Linked DNA regions of Homo sapiens: all the other regions are linked to region 4. The links are contacts of gene promoters, found by promoter capture Hi-C in human tissues and cell types (Jung and others, 2019). All regions are on one chromosome and are shown on one strand. The core of a region is centred on a gene start or on the middle of the fragment in contact, and the rest is flanking DNA. Distances in the headings are between cores, read along the strand shown. Region 1 holds the start of C15orf62 (chromosome 15 open reading frame 62). Region 2 holds the start of EIF2AK4 (eukaryotic translation initiation factor 2 alpha kinase 4). Region 3 overlaps SRP14-DT (SRP14 divergent transcript). Region 4 holds the start of KNSTRN (kinetochore localized astrin (SPAG5) binding protein). Region 5 overlaps SRP14-DT (SRP14 divergent transcript).

Evidence for each region. Contacts are between HindIII fragments. The study calls those that stand out against the background at their distance.
Region 1: a contact is called between the fragment with the promoter of C15orf62 here and the fragment with the promoter of KNSTRN in region 4, in 1 of the 25 tissues and cell types used here (lymphoblastoid cells).
Region 2: the fragment with the promoter of EIF2AK4 here is called in contact with the fragment with the promoter of KNSTRN in region 4 in 1 of the 25 tissues and cell types used here (adrenal gland).
Region 3: a contact is called between a fragment that was not itself captured here and the fragment with the promoter of KNSTRN in region 4, in 2 of the 25 tissues and cell types used here (IMR-90 fibroblasts and mesenchymal stem cells).
Region 5: a fragment that was not itself captured here is called in contact with the fragment with the promoter of KNSTRN in region 4 in 2 of the 25 tissues and cell types used here (psoas muscle and thymus).

The regions. Positions count from the first base shown.
Region 1 is chr15:40,768,711-40,771,410 of GRCh38, forward strand. It overlaps C15orf62 (chromosome 15 open reading frame 62), which reads left to right and starts at 1,270. Exons shown (of 1, transcript NM_001130448.3): 1 at 1,270-2,700. The coding sequence starts at 1,786. The coding sequence ends at 2,313. All of the region lies in intron 10 of DNAJC17 (DnaJ heat shock protein family (Hsp40) member C17), which reads right to left. RefSeq lists enhancers at 1-549, 1,168-1,786, 1,740-1,829, 1,787-2,403. The HindIII fragment of the contact is 9,899 bases long and covers 1-2,700 here.
Region 2 is chr15:39,932,796-39,935,495 of GRCh38, forward strand. EIF2AK4 (eukaryotic translation initiation factor 2 alpha kinase 4) reads left to right here and starts at 1,320. Exons shown (of 39, transcript NM_001013703.4): 1 at 1,320-1,544. The coding sequence starts at 1,401. RefSeq lists an enhancer at 1,033-1,172 and a silencer at 1,193-1,602. The HindIII fragment of the contact is 10,364 bases long and covers 1-2,700 here.
Region 3 is chr15:40,049,194-40,051,893 of GRCh38, forward strand. All of the region lies in intron 2 of SRP14-DT (SRP14 divergent transcript), which reads left to right. Among named protein-coding and RNA genes, the nearest start is that of SRP14-DT, 11 kb to the left of the region's middle. The HindIII fragment of the contact is 7,633 bases long and covers 1-2,700 here.
Region 4 is chr15:40,381,306-40,384,005 of GRCh38, forward strand. KNSTRN (kinetochore localized astrin (SPAG5) binding protein) reads left to right here and starts at 1,416. Exons shown (of 9, transcript NM_033286.4): 1 at 1,416-1,739; 2 at 1,923-2,017. The coding sequence starts at 1,531. RefSeq lists enhancers at 294-794, 1,420-1,489, 1,449-1,972, 1,738-1,907, 1,973-2,494. The HindIII fragment of the contact is 15,043 bases long and covers 1-2,700 here.
Region 5 is chr15:40,066,000-40,068,699 of GRCh38, forward strand. SRP14-DT (SRP14 divergent transcript) reads left to right here. Exons shown (of 3, transcript NR_040060.1): 3 at 1-1,510. Among named protein-coding and RNA genes, the nearest start is that of SRP14-DT, 28 kb to the left of the region's middle. RefSeq lists a silencer at 2,321-2,504. The HindIII fragment of the contact is 7,878 bases long and covers 1-2,700 here.

The DNA of each region.
Region 1 (2,700 bases), core at 20-2,519, 390 kb after region 4:
CTGTAGGGTGGAGAAGCAGCTCTACAGCGGGACCTAAGCTGCCAACCCACGCCCTGATAAGGTCTGCGGTGGGAATTAAACCTTTTCCTCCCTCGGTGCCGCTTAGGCTGTGTGATGATCATGTGGTCCCAACAGCTTCTCAGAGAAGTGTGAAGCACACCTGAGTTGGCACAGAAGTGAGCTAGGCCAGGGATTGCAAGATGCGGTGGCCTGCCCGTAGCAGAGAGCTGTGGGGCCCTGATCCGCGGTACCCCGCATGGGGACGCTGTCACAGAGCAAGGCAGGAGGAAAATGTGGTGGTCAGTGACCCGGGGAATAGGAAGGGAGCAGCTAGGGTTGAGATGCCAGGCCCTGGCCAGCAGGTTTGGAGTAAGGGGTGTAGAGAAACAGGAAGTGTTACTCAGCCTGGGTTCCCCTGTTCCTCCCGATGGCTGCACCCCTCCCCTCTCCCCGGCTGCAGCAGTCCCAGCTAGGCCGGACTGCTAAGCCTGGCCCAGAGCACGGCTGACAATTCACGGCAGCCTCCCTGGCCCAGCCTCCTGCAAGAGAAGGAGGACCCCAGAGGAAGCCCGGTAGCCAGAGGGGAAGGGCTGGAGCACAGCCAGGTAGGAGGCAACACGGCCCGGCCTTCAGCAGCCGCTCTCCTGGCAGGAGCCCTCTAGGGTAAAACAAGGGAGGACAAGGAAATAGCAGCCAGGCTGATGGCAGGCCAAGAGGAGGCCACATCTCCCATCCCCAGGTTAATGCTGCTCTGCCAAGAAAACTTGGAGCCACCCTTGGCGGGCCCCCAGCCCAACCCTGGGCAGCAGAGCCCGCCCATCACAGGCATGGCGCTGCTCCCCATTAACACACCCTCTGCCCCCCTTCCTGTTCCTGCTCGTGAGGGCCTGACAGCGGGGCTGAGTCACCCATACCAGCTACAGGTCTCTTCCTTCCCCAACAATCGTTCCACACGCCTGCCTTTCAATTAACTCCCACCCGCCCCGAACTCTTCCTACCCAGACACTGTGGGCAGGGAGCCAGGCGCACCTGCTGGGGGCCCAGGGTGGTGGGGCTGTGATCAGAAAGGAAGCCGCGTGGTGACACATAAAGCAGGGCTGCCCCCACACGAGTCCCCAGAGGAATCTTAAGCTCCCCATTGCCCTGGGGTGTTGGTCCCAGCTGCCCCATCCCTGCACGCGGATGCTGCAATTACCCAAGAGCACGAAACCTGGCTTCCCACCTGACTGAGTCAGCTGAGAACAAAAACACATCTCCACCGCCACAAACAGCCAGGCCACTCATCAGAGTCCGGGAGCCACTGGCAGAGAGGGCACGGCCCCACACTGCCCCAGAGACATATAGGAGCCAGGCAAACACCAGGGCGAGTGAGCTCGGGCCATCTGCTGCCTGCCTGTGGAAGGAGCGCTCGCCAGCCTCACCCAGCCCGAGAAGGTCCACCTCTGCCTCCGCCGGAGCTGCCCTCATTCTGGCTCCAGTAAGTGCTGCTTCTTCCTCCTGGGTTTTTTTCCACTACCCTATTCAGTAACCAGGCCACTCCTGTCCCTGTGGGAAACTCTTGCTGCCAGGAACTCCCAGCTGTCTGCTCTCCTGGGCAAAAAAGTTCCTTCTTCCTGAGCCCTCCTCTCACCATCCAAGATGTGGTCAAAGGTCTGTGCTGAGTGGAAACCCTGAGGCCTCTGCTCCTAGGGGAGCCTCCCCAGCTGCTGGCACTCACTGCCCCAGCAGGGACCACATGCACCCTGGCTGCTCCTGAACACCTGTCTGCTGGCTCCCCTGGGCCCCATGGAGACCTGGCGGAAAGGCTCCTTCCGCAACGCCTCCTTCTTCAAGCAGCTGAGCCTGGGGCGGCCACGGCGGCTCCGGCGACAGAGTAGTGTGCTTAGCCAGGCCAGCACAGCAGGTGGGGACCACGAGGAGTACAGCAACCGAGAAGTCATCCGGGAGCTACAAGGGAGGCCAGATGGCCGGCGCCTGCCACTGTGGGGGGACGAGCAGCCCCGGGCCACCCTGCTGGCCCCACCCAAGCCCCCACGCCTCTACCGAGAGAGCTCAAGCTGCCCCAACATCCTGGAGCCCCCACCTGCCTACACAGCAGCCTACTCTGCCACCCTGCCATCGGCGCTCTCTCTGTCGAGTGCCCTCCACCAGCACTCAGAGAAGGGCCTTGTGGACACTCCCTGCTTCCAGAGGACACCTACCCCAGACCTCAGTGATCCCTTCCTCTCCTTCAAAGTGGACCTGGGGATTTCACTTCTTGAGGAAGTTCTGCAGATGCTAAGGGAGCAGTTTCCTAGCGAGCCCAGCTTCTAAATGGGGTGAGGGTGGGCAAAGCCGGGGTGACTGGAAGATCCAGAGGCTGGGGATTAAGGAAAGGACAGGGACAGGACTCCAGGCCCATCGCTGGAGGGTTCAGGCAGGCAGAGCTTCTTCATCCTGGGGGAGGATTCCAGGATAGGAATCCAGGGCTCTGCCTGCTCTCTGGGTCCTGGACAGTCCTTCCAGGCACCCCAGAGTGGAGGGACAGAGGCAATCTGGAAATGTTGGGGGGGCGGCCCTTCCTGGCAGGACCCTGAAGAAAGCTGGCTATGCCGGGAAAGGGAGGCTGTGCCGGGAAAGGGAGGCTCTGTGCGGCACTACAGGAACCAGGTAGAGGCTGGCAGAGCCAGAAGGTGGCACGGGGTCAGATCAGGGAGTGGG
Region 2 (2,700 bases), core at 70-2,569, 450 kb before region 4:
CAGTTGAATGGTGCCATTTACCTAGTCAGAGATCACTGGAGAAGGAACGGGTCTCCAGCAGAGGGAAGATGATGATTTAAATTGGCCTTGGGTCAAGCTAGTGCATTTGTGTTATCTGGCCAGAAATGAGTGGATAGATGGCAGCAAGGAATTTACACAATCATTATTTAGTGAACAGTGGAGGAGTAAGCAAGGTAGACAGAAGAAACGTCACTTAAACCTAACTTGGGTTAGTACAATAGGATTATTCGAAATGGACATGCAGCATTAGTAAGTTACTGAAGATGAAGTGCAATAACAATGTCTGGGTAGACAGGTTATTATTTTATAAACTTGAAAAACGACGACTTGAGGCAGGATATAACACAAAGACTCCCTAAATTCACACTGAGTGAACTGGGAAGGGAACATGATTCTCTTCATGGGAAGGTAGCTCATAAAGATGCCTGAGTGGAAAGACAGTTTTCAATTGAATTTGCAAGGTGGTAGTGGAGATCCCCAAAGCTGGGGAATGTAGAGACAGAGAACATAATGAGGGTGTTGAATCTGTGGCTCAGAGAATAAGTTTGGGGGTACTAAAGTGGGAGGAAGGAGGGTGGGGGGGGTCACAATTTTTACTCCCGGTAGTCTTGTTCTGGGAAGGTACAAGGTGAAATTAGAAGTGACCTCAGAACCCATCGACGTCTGCCCTTTAAGAGTTTCCCGGCCGGGCGCGGTGGCTCATGCCTGTAATCCCAGCACTTTGGAAGGCCGAGGCGGGCGGATCACAAGGTCAGGAGATCGAGAACATCTTGGCCAACATGGTGAAACACCATCTCTACTAAAAATAGAAAAATTAGCCGGGCGTGGTGGTGCGCGCCTGTAGTCCCAGCTACTCTGGAGGCTGACGCAGGAGAATCGCGTGAACCCGGCAGGCGGAAGTTGCAGTGAGCCGAGATCGCGCCACTGCACTCCAGCCTGGGGAACAAGAGCCGAAACTCTGCCAAAAAAAAGAAAAAAGAGTTTCCCGCACTAGCCATGCCAGGGTGGAGAAGTTCCAGCAAGCACTTCTGTTAAAGATACTTGTTTCGTGAAAACTATACAATGTGGCGTTTTCATTCCTATCTGTGATTCATTTCTTAAGTTCGTGGAGTTCCTTTGCTCCCCTTCCCCCAGCAGGATGTGGGCAAAGCTGTCCCCCTGCCTTCTTCCTTCGCCTGGGCTTCTGGAGCCTCCGGAGCTAGCTCCCGGCGCGGAGCTCCGCCTACGGCCCGTCCCCGGCGCGGAACCCCGCCCACGAGCCCGTTTCCAGCGTGGAACACCGCCCATAGCCCGTCCCCAGCGCGGAGCCCCGCCCCGCAGGCTGCCGGGGGCCCACCGCCGCCCAGGCAAGGCCGCCCTGCCTTGGGCGCAGCGCTGCCATGGCTGGGGGCCGTGGGGCCCCCGGGCGCGGCCGGGACGAGCCTCCGGAGAGCTACCCGCAACGACAGGACCACGAGCTACAGGCCCTGGAGGCCATTTACGGCGCGGACTTCCAAGACCTGCGGCCGGACGCTTGCGGACCGGTAGGAACGTGGCTTGTCAGGCCCGGGCTGGCGTGCCCTGGCCTCCCCGGGCCCTGGGCCAAAGCCCGGACACTTCCAGATTGGGCCGCCGCTTTAGGATCCTGCAGTCTTTTCATCCCTTAGGTTCCACCCATGCTCACTTTAGTCCTTGCACCTGCAGCTGGTCTGCAGAATCCCACCTAGGCCGAATTCTTCTACAGTCCTTTCCCCATGATTTCCCCAGAGGAATCCCCCTGGATTCCTCCCTCTTACCTGGCACTGCTTCTTATTCCTGCCTACATCCCATAACATAACTGCCTCCTTCCAACCTTGTCCTTTTTCCCCTCTGAAAGCCCTTGCGGATGATACCACAGCAATTCATACGCGCCCCTTGCTACTTTGTTCTGAGAACGCTTTTTGGGCTCTCGCACAGGCCTTACGTCCTCAATCAGAATTCTCAAGTCTCATCCATGCATTCAAATCTGCACGCCACATAATTCCCTCTGTACTCCCCAGGCATCCTCACTGTGTTTTCCGGTATGGAGGAACTTTCCATACCTCTGCACCTTCCTCTAAGACATTTAGCTCAGAATAAAGCACACATTCATCTTAGCTGTAGTAGAGAGAGGGTTCTAGACTGAGTCTAGAGAAGGAGTGTCCAATCTTTTGGCTTCCCTGGGCCACACACAAAATACACTAACACTAAGGATAGCTGATGACCTAAAAGAAAAAAAAAATTCGCAAAAAAACCTCAATGTTTTAAGAAAGTTTACGAATGCGTGTTGGGCCACATTCAAAGCGGCCCATGGGCCTCGGGTTAGACCAGCTTGCTCTAGCTCTAGACCTTTTAAAATGGCATTTTGTTTAAAATAATATTTTGCCTTTTTGTCTGGAAATTAAGGCACGTTATAAAGTATTTATACTGACAGTTTTTTCCCCATCCTTGAAGAGTTGATCTACCAAACTATTTCTGAATATTATCATATTATCATTTAAAACATAGTTCTAACTTCATCTGCTTTTTTTTTTTTTCTTTTTGAGACAGGGTCTTGCTCTGTCTCCCAAGCTGGAGTGCAGAGGCATGACCACGGCTCACTGCAGCTTATTCTCAAGCAATCCTTCTGCCTCAGCCTGTCAAGTACCTGGGACTACAGGCACATGCCACTACACCTGGTTA
Region 3 (2,700 bases), core at 27-2,526, 330 kb before region 4:
TGGTTGTGGCCTTACAGAAACAGCACTGGAGTGGCAGCCGAAGTGCTGAGTTCTAATCTGAATTCTGCCACTCATTGGCGTGGGACCTTGGACAAGTCACTTTTTGCCGGACTTGAGTTTCTTCCTCTGTAACTTGGGGAGTTGGGATTGAGCTGTAAAGTCCCTTCCAGTTTTAAATGTGAGACTCCAATGCTGTCAGGTAACTTTGGGATTGCTGTAATGACTGTTTGGGGGCTAGTATAGCTGGGAAAGAAATTAGGATGAGAATCCAATTGAGGGCAAGATAAAATGGAATTGTATTCTATTCAGAACTTGAAATAGGATGGGATTTTGTTTTCCCCAGATCCTCACCATAAAGAGATTTGGGAGAAAATCTTGGGAGATTTGGACTCAGAATATCTTAAGAGGTAGTATTCTAGAAGATTGCCCAACACTTGGTGGGGAAGAGCAAGAATTCTTCCAGATTGCTTGACAAGCAGAACATGGGGAGTGGGTCACAGTAATACCAGGAAAGACACATCCCATCCTCCCAACCCTCTTTTCCACTGAAGCTGCTCCTTACAATTCCTGTAACTGGGGACCAGGCCTTTCATTCCAGTTACAGCTAAAACTTAACATGGCCATTTAAATTTCCCTGAGGGTATAAATGGCTAATATTCTCTCCTTCTAAGACCCAGCATATGCTGAGAGAGGCCTTCAGAGGAGGTGGGGGCTGGAAGAAGGAGTGAAGGTGGAGGCCCAAAGATCACGCAGGAGCCATGCTTTTTCTGAAGCCAGATCTAGGCCTAGCAACTCAGAGCAGTTCCCCGTGGGCAGTGATGTGGAAGAAGGCCCTGGGCTTCCTAAGTGCCTCTAGGTCACTTTGTGAAACCTCTCACATGGGCCTGCCTGGGAGGAGGAGCCCAGTGTAGCCCCCACCTGTCTGCTGCCTGCTCATCTTCCAGGGTGTTGAGGGGATGGGTAGCATGGCTGTCTGCCCCCACCAATTACCCACATGGCTTGGGTCAACCAGACTCTGTCAGAGCTGTTGAAGGAGACATAAACCTAGGCTTTTGGAGGCAGCTTCAGGGAAAGGTGGAGTGTGTGAGGTGGAAGGTGGGTGAGAAAGTGTGCAAGGGGGAACACACTGTTCTCTACTGGCCCTTTGCCAAACAGCAAGGGAGAGAGGAGTAACAAGGCCAGACTATGGCCATGTTTAGTGGTTTTCAACTGCGGCCCAAAATGAGGCAGACATAGGCTAGGCATGGTCTAGCCCTTGTGTGTGTGTGTGTGTGTGTGTGTGTGTGTGTGTGTGTGTAGGGGGAGTGTGAGGAAGTTGTGAGGGTGTGTGGTGTGTGGGGGAGTGGTGTGTGTGGGGGGTGTGGTGTGTGTGAGGAGTGTGTGGTGTGTGGGGGATTGTGGTGTGCGGGGGCGGTGGTGTGTGTGGTGTGGGGTGTGGTGTGTGCGTCTGTGTGGTTGTGTGTGGTGTGTGGGGAGGTGTCATGTGGCATGTGTGGGGGGTTGTGTGTGTGTGAGGAGTGTGTAGTGTGGGGGGGGTTTGTGTGTGCATGGTGTGTGTGCGCGTGTGAGGGGGTGTGGTATGCATGGGCAGTGGTGTATGTGGTGTGTGGGGGGTGTGGTGTGTGGGGGTGTGTGGTGCGGTGTGGGTGTGTGTGTGTAAGGAGGTAGTGTGTGTGGATGTGTGTAGGGGGTGTGGGGTGATGGTGCGTGTGTGGTATGGGGGGTGTGGTGTGTGTGTCTGGAGTGGGGAGTGTGTGGTGTGTGGGGAGGGTGGGGATGTGTGTGTGGAGTGTGGGGGTGTGTGGTGTGTGTGTGGAGTGTGGTGTGTGGGGAGGGGGCGGGTGTTGGCCTGGGTGAGCCCTGGCAATCGCAGCAGAGAAGATGCCAAAATTTTGTATTTACTGTCAGGGCAATGATGCTGGAACTGCAGATCCAGCGCCCCGAAACCCGGCCCATCCCAAGACACTGCTTCTCACAGCCAACAGAGGAAGGAGGGAGGGGGAGAGGCCTGAAGCCGAGGCTTCTTCTTGAGGAATGCTCGCCAGGCCAGCAGCCTTCCTCACTTCAATGCAGCCTTCCCCTTCTATCCACCGATGAGCATTTAGCGGGCAACTCCTTTGTCCAGGGCAAGCCTTCCCCAGGTCTCTCTCTTCAAAAGCAGATGCTACCTAGTGGGAGGTGCGGAGTTATACATGCAAGAAAGGGCTACAGGACAGCATCACTAGTACCAAGCTGTGAAGGAGGTGGACTTTGAAGGGAAGAAAGAATTTAGAAAAACAGACTAGTGGACTAGTTACTGCGGGGAGCAGAGTGCCATTTCAGGCAGGAGAAGGAGTGTGATGTGAATCTTAGGGAAGAGTCCTCTTTGTATGTTCTGACAACTATTCTCTGACACCAACGGGGCATCCTGCAATTGGATTCAGTGTCAATTCTGACACTGACTACCTGCAGTTAGTGCCTGTGATATTGTGAAACAGGTATTAATTAGGTCTTCATTCCTGACATACAACTCCTAAAATCCTTGGAATCTCCTAAGTTTTAAGTGTCTTTTTGCACGCTAAGCACCTAGGTAGCTTCAAGATGGGAGCTGGCCGCCAGAAAGATCAAGACAGGGTTAGAGGATTGGGACTTTCAGCCCCACCCTTCAACCTCCAGGGAGGGAAAAGGGGCTGAAGTTTAAGTTGATCACCAGTGGCCAAT
Region 4 (2,700 bases), core at 166-2,665:
GCCTGTAATTCCAACACTTTGGGAGGCTGAAGTGGGAGGATCATTTGAGGCCAGGGGTTTAAGACCAGCCTGGGCATCATAGCAGGACCCCATCTCTACAAAAATTAGCTGGGTCTGGTGGCAGGCACCTTTAGTCTTAGCTACTCAGGAGGCCGAGGTGGGAGGATCTCCTGAGCCCAGGAGTTCAAGGTTGCAGTGAACTATGATTGCACTCCAGCCTGGGCAACAGAGTGAGACCCTGTCTCAAAAAATAATAATAAAATAAAATAAAATATAAATTGGATGACACTCTCCTGCTATAATACTTCAGTGGCTTTCCATTACTTTTAGATAAAATCTAATCTCTATACCTTGGCCTGTAAAATCTGTCTTTTGACTGCTTATTTCTCCAGCTTTATCTGTACCACTCTCTTCCTATCTTTCTGTGCCTATAGAAGAACCCATTTCTGCCTTGGGACTTTGCATTTTCCCCTTTCCCCAATGAAATTAACTCCCTCTCCTTCCTTAATCAAACATCATCTCAGAGAGGTCTTCCCTGAGCCCCCAATATAATCTAAGTTTCCCTGCTTTTCTATCTTATACGATTTTGTACTTTTTCTTCATAGTGTGTGTGTTTTGGTTTGATTTTTGAGATCACGCTCTGTCACCCAGGGTGAAGTGCAGTGGCGCGATCTCCGCTCACTGCAACCTCTGCCCCGCCCAGGGTCACATAATTCCCCCACCTCAGCCTCCAGGGTAGCTGGGACTACAGGAGCATGCCACGACACCTGGCTAATTTCTGTATTTTTTGTAGAGACGGGGTTGCACCATGTCGCCCAGGGTGGTCTCAAACTCCTGGACTCAAGCAATTCACCCGCCTCCACCTCCCAAAGTGCTATAATTACAGCTGTGAGCCACTGTGCCCAGCCTTCTTCACAATTTCACCACAATCCGTAAATATATATTTATTTATGTGATTATTTGTTCACTGTCTGTTTTCTAAGTTGTAAACTCCAGGAGGGCAGAGCCAAGGTCAATCTTGATATTTGCCCTCCCTCACTCCCTTCCACCCACTGAGAACACTGTTGGGTAATCAGCAGGTACTCAATAAATGCCAGATGAAATGAATGAGCTAGTGCATTTAGTAATGGAAGCTACCCTGTTTATTGGGAGTAGCTTTGAATCACTACTGAAAATCTGGATAAGTGCTATTAAAATTAGGACCTCAGGTAGGTGCCTCAGGTATCTCAGCCCATAGGTCCTTTTCTTCAAGCCTCACCTGCCACTCTCCACCTGTAACGTGTAGTTTTCATCCAAATAACCTGTGCTCCTGGCAATATCCCTAACAATCCCAAACTAAATAAAGAGGATTGTGACATGGACCCTAAATGTCGCCACGTTTGCGTCTCCATCCCGGAATATGACGCTGGTAGCTCATTAGCTCCATTCAAGCCTACAAATTGCATCACCCTCCTCCTCTGCCCAGACCTGGGGGCTCCAACACCTTTCGCTAGGTCTGGCTCTGGCCTCTGAGCGAACCTTCCGTACAGTATGGCGGCTCCCGAAGCCCCGCCCCTGGACAGAGTTTTCCGTACAACATGGCTGTCTACAGAGTGCGATTCCCACCCACTTCCGCCTAGCTACCGGAAGTTTCTATTTGAAACCCAGGCGGCCGACTTAGCCGGTGGCACGACAGTTGCTGCAGGGAATCTTTTAAACGAGAGCGAGAAGGACTGCGGGCAGGACCGGCGGGCTCCTGGGTTCGGCTCTCCCGGGGCGAGGGACTGGGCTGGATGGGAGGAAGGACGGAATGAGCTGGGAAAGGAGGATTTTCTCTTTTCCAACCCCGAGCCGGGGCCTGTCGGGTCGCGCTATCCCCGGGCCCTCCACTCTCTCGGGCCCAGTGGCCCAGCGCTGGGTAACATTCATCCTGTACCTTCCAGGGTTCAGCCGTGCCGCCTCGTTACGATGACCAGTGTGGTTAAGACAGTGTATAGCCTGCAGCCCCCCTCTGCGCTGAGCGGCGGCCAGCCGGCAGGTGAGGGTCCAAGCCACGCCCGGGGCACTGCGGCCTGGCCGGGGATGGTCTCGGGAGTGTGGAGATCGAATGGGTGGCGCGGGCACGGGGAAGGGCGTCCCGTCGGCCCTGAAAACCTGTGAGCCCCCTATAACCAGGCTATGTAGGTTTATGATGGGAGTTAAGGGAAGGACCATGTGGTAGGATTTTAGACGTGCTCTGCACTTTTCTGCCCGCATGTGTACTGTATTCATCAGTTAGATTCAAGTTGTTGGTTATTGTACAATGTTATTCCCATTAAGCTAGGAATCCCCTTCTAATCGGTTATCGTCTTATTTCCAGACTTGGGCTATCTTGAGGGATTGGGTTTGTTTTCAGGGAGGAAAGAGGAGAATCATTTGAGAAGTGGGATACTTAGGGTTCTTTGTTCACCTTTATATCTGCACCGTGTTTCTCATTACCACATTCTCAATACACGTTTGTTGAGTGAAGTGGGAGAGAGGGGTTAGACCTAGGCACAGTATTTGAGAAACTTGGGCGAAGAGAGAGACATGATTAAAAATAGTTTTTAATTGCTTTGCCATCTGCTTTGTGTTGCTTTGCTTGTGGTTGAAAGTCATCTCATGGGGTCTGCAGTCGGGGAACTGCCTAATCTAGAGATTATAGTACAGAGTAAGCTTCAGACATCAGAAAACTGTTGTGGG
Region 5 (2,700 bases), core at 163-2,662, 320 kb before region 4:
CACACATCCACTGGGGCTTTAAAAACAACCTGGAATGAAAGCTGTTGAGTCTAGAGAAATGGGCTACAAAGAAGGTTTACAAGATAATCTATTAAGAATAGGGAATACAGGCCGGGCACGGTGGCTCACACCTGTAATCCCAGCACTTTGGGAGGCTGAGGTGGGTGGATCATTTGAGGTCAGGAGTTCGAGACCAGCCTGGCCAATGTGGTGAAATCCTGTCTCTACCAAAAATTATCCAGGCATGGTGGTGCGTGCCTGTAGTCCCAGCTACTTGGGAGGCTGAGGCATGAGCATCGCTTGAACCCGGGAGGCAGAGGTTGCAGTGAGCCGAGATCGCGCCACTACACCCCAGCCTGGGTGACAGAGCAAGACTCCGTCTCAAAAAAATAAAAAAACCTAAAATAAAGCTTAATACACATGACATATGGATTGGCAGTCACACATAAATATGATTGATAAGGATACAAATATTTGGAGGTGCTGCCTGACCATCTGTTGCTGATTATGTGGAGATCACTTGTCTAGGACCCTGAGATAGACTGATGTTTCTAACTCTGCCACACACGGTCTCTCCCACCCTCCAGACACTTTCTTCCTTCAGTTCAGGGAACCCTCAATACACAGTAAGAATGAAGAGGTTGCAGGTCTGAGCTTGAGGAGGACTGGACTAAAAGGAGTTTAGCCCTGCCAGGGCATTCCGAGGACTGTGAAGATCCGGAATATTGGCCACAGGCATCTATGTATTTGAATCATATCCATTTTTGAGCTCACTCCTAGCAGAGGAGTCAAAACTTACGTTCTGGCCCCCAGGTACATTTCCAGTCTCTTACTCATAAAATTGTGACATACCCCCAGGGGTGCCCAAAGGGGTTTGTGAATCAAGATAGTTTGAGGAGAATCGATTTTCTGATCCTCAGTTTTTCTATGCTCTTTTTCCTAAAAGCGATATTCCTAAAAAGGCATCCAAGACAAGGCATCCCCTTTCCCATTTGCTGGGGAAGACAGCTTTACAAGAGAAAGCTGCCCCTCTCACCCATGTGACCCCCCACTCTGGGGCACTGCCCTAGGGGTAGAAATCTCCAAGGCATCAAACAAAGTGACTCCTGGGGGTCAAGTGACAGAGGAGCAAGTCTTTCTGCAAGTCAAGTGGTTTCCAGCTCTGCTTTCAGCAAAATTGAAAGAGGCACTAATCAAATTGCCAGCGGATCATAAAAAAACATTTTGATAATAATGTTATTAGGCATATAACTTGGAAGAAGTTCAAAGAATTGAATGGCATCCTCATAACAAACTCATCGGCTTCCATTTATTTATTTATGTGGACAGTGTTTCTCAATGTTTAAACCTACAAAAGACTAAACATGGGAGTAAACTTCATGTTGAACCTTGTGTGAGTCTAGCAATAAGTCATCCACATATACATACACTAATTGGGAAGAAAACCTGTCCCAACCCCAACTATTTTATTAAGAGATGCATTTCCAATAAAAATTTACCTTTTATGTTTAATAGTTGTTTATCAAATTTCGTAATTATTTACATTGCTCTGATCAATTGGATATAAACTATTCTAACACTAAACTCATAACCAAAAAATTAATGCTCAGCTTTGGGAACAGAGGAATTTTTTTTTTTTTTTTTTTTTTTGAGAAGGAGTCTTGCTCTGTTACCCAGGCTGGAGTGCAGAGGCGCAATTTCAGCTCTCTGCAACCTCCACCTCCCGGGTTCAAGCGATTCTCCTGCCTCAGCCTCCCAAGTAGCTGGGACTACAGGTGTGTGCCATCACGCCTAGCTAATTTTTGTATTTTTAGTAGAGACAGGGTTTCACCATGTTGGCCAGGATGGTCTTGACCTCTTGACCTCGTGATCTGCCCCTCGGCTTCCCAAAGTGTTGGGATTACAGGTGTGAGCCACCAGTCCCGGCCAGAAGTTTTAATCTTTAAATTTTATTTAATACAATAATCAATCAAAGATTTTTCTTTCTTTCTTTTTTTTTTTTTTTTTTTTGAGACAACTTCTCCCTTTGTTAGTCAGGCTAGAGTGCAGTGGTGCAATCATGGCTCACTGCAGCCTTGACCTCCTGGGCTCAAGCCATCCTCCTGCCTCAGCCTCCCCAAAGTACTGGGATTACAGTCATGAACCACCATGCCTAGCCAATAAAAGATTTTCAAGCATAAAAAATAAATACAGGCTGGGTGCTGTGGCTCACACCTATAATCTCAACACTTTGGGAGGCCGAGGTGGGCGGATCATTTGAGCCTAGGAATTGGAGACCAGCCTGGGCAATATGGTGAAACTGTGTCTCTACAAAAAATACAAAAATTAGCAGGGCATGGTGGTGCAGGCCTGTAGTTCCAGCTACTCAGAAGGCCGAGGTGGGGGAATCACCTGAGCCCAGGAGATTGAGGCTGCAGTGAATCAGGATCACACCACTGCACTCCAGCCTGGGCAACAGAGCAAAACCCTGCCTCAAAAAAAAAACAAACAAACAAACAAAAAAAAACCCTTACATTAGCATAAAATCTGTAACAGGAGTGAAATGGAAATACAAGTTCTTGGAGAGAACGAAATAATGTAAACTTCTAAGCTGTTTAATTAGCGTTTGTTCCCCTATTTTTTTTAATGGATAATGTTGGACACAGAATTGCTCTGGCATTTAGATTCCATTGGACATTTAAAAGAAAGATACAATTTGTA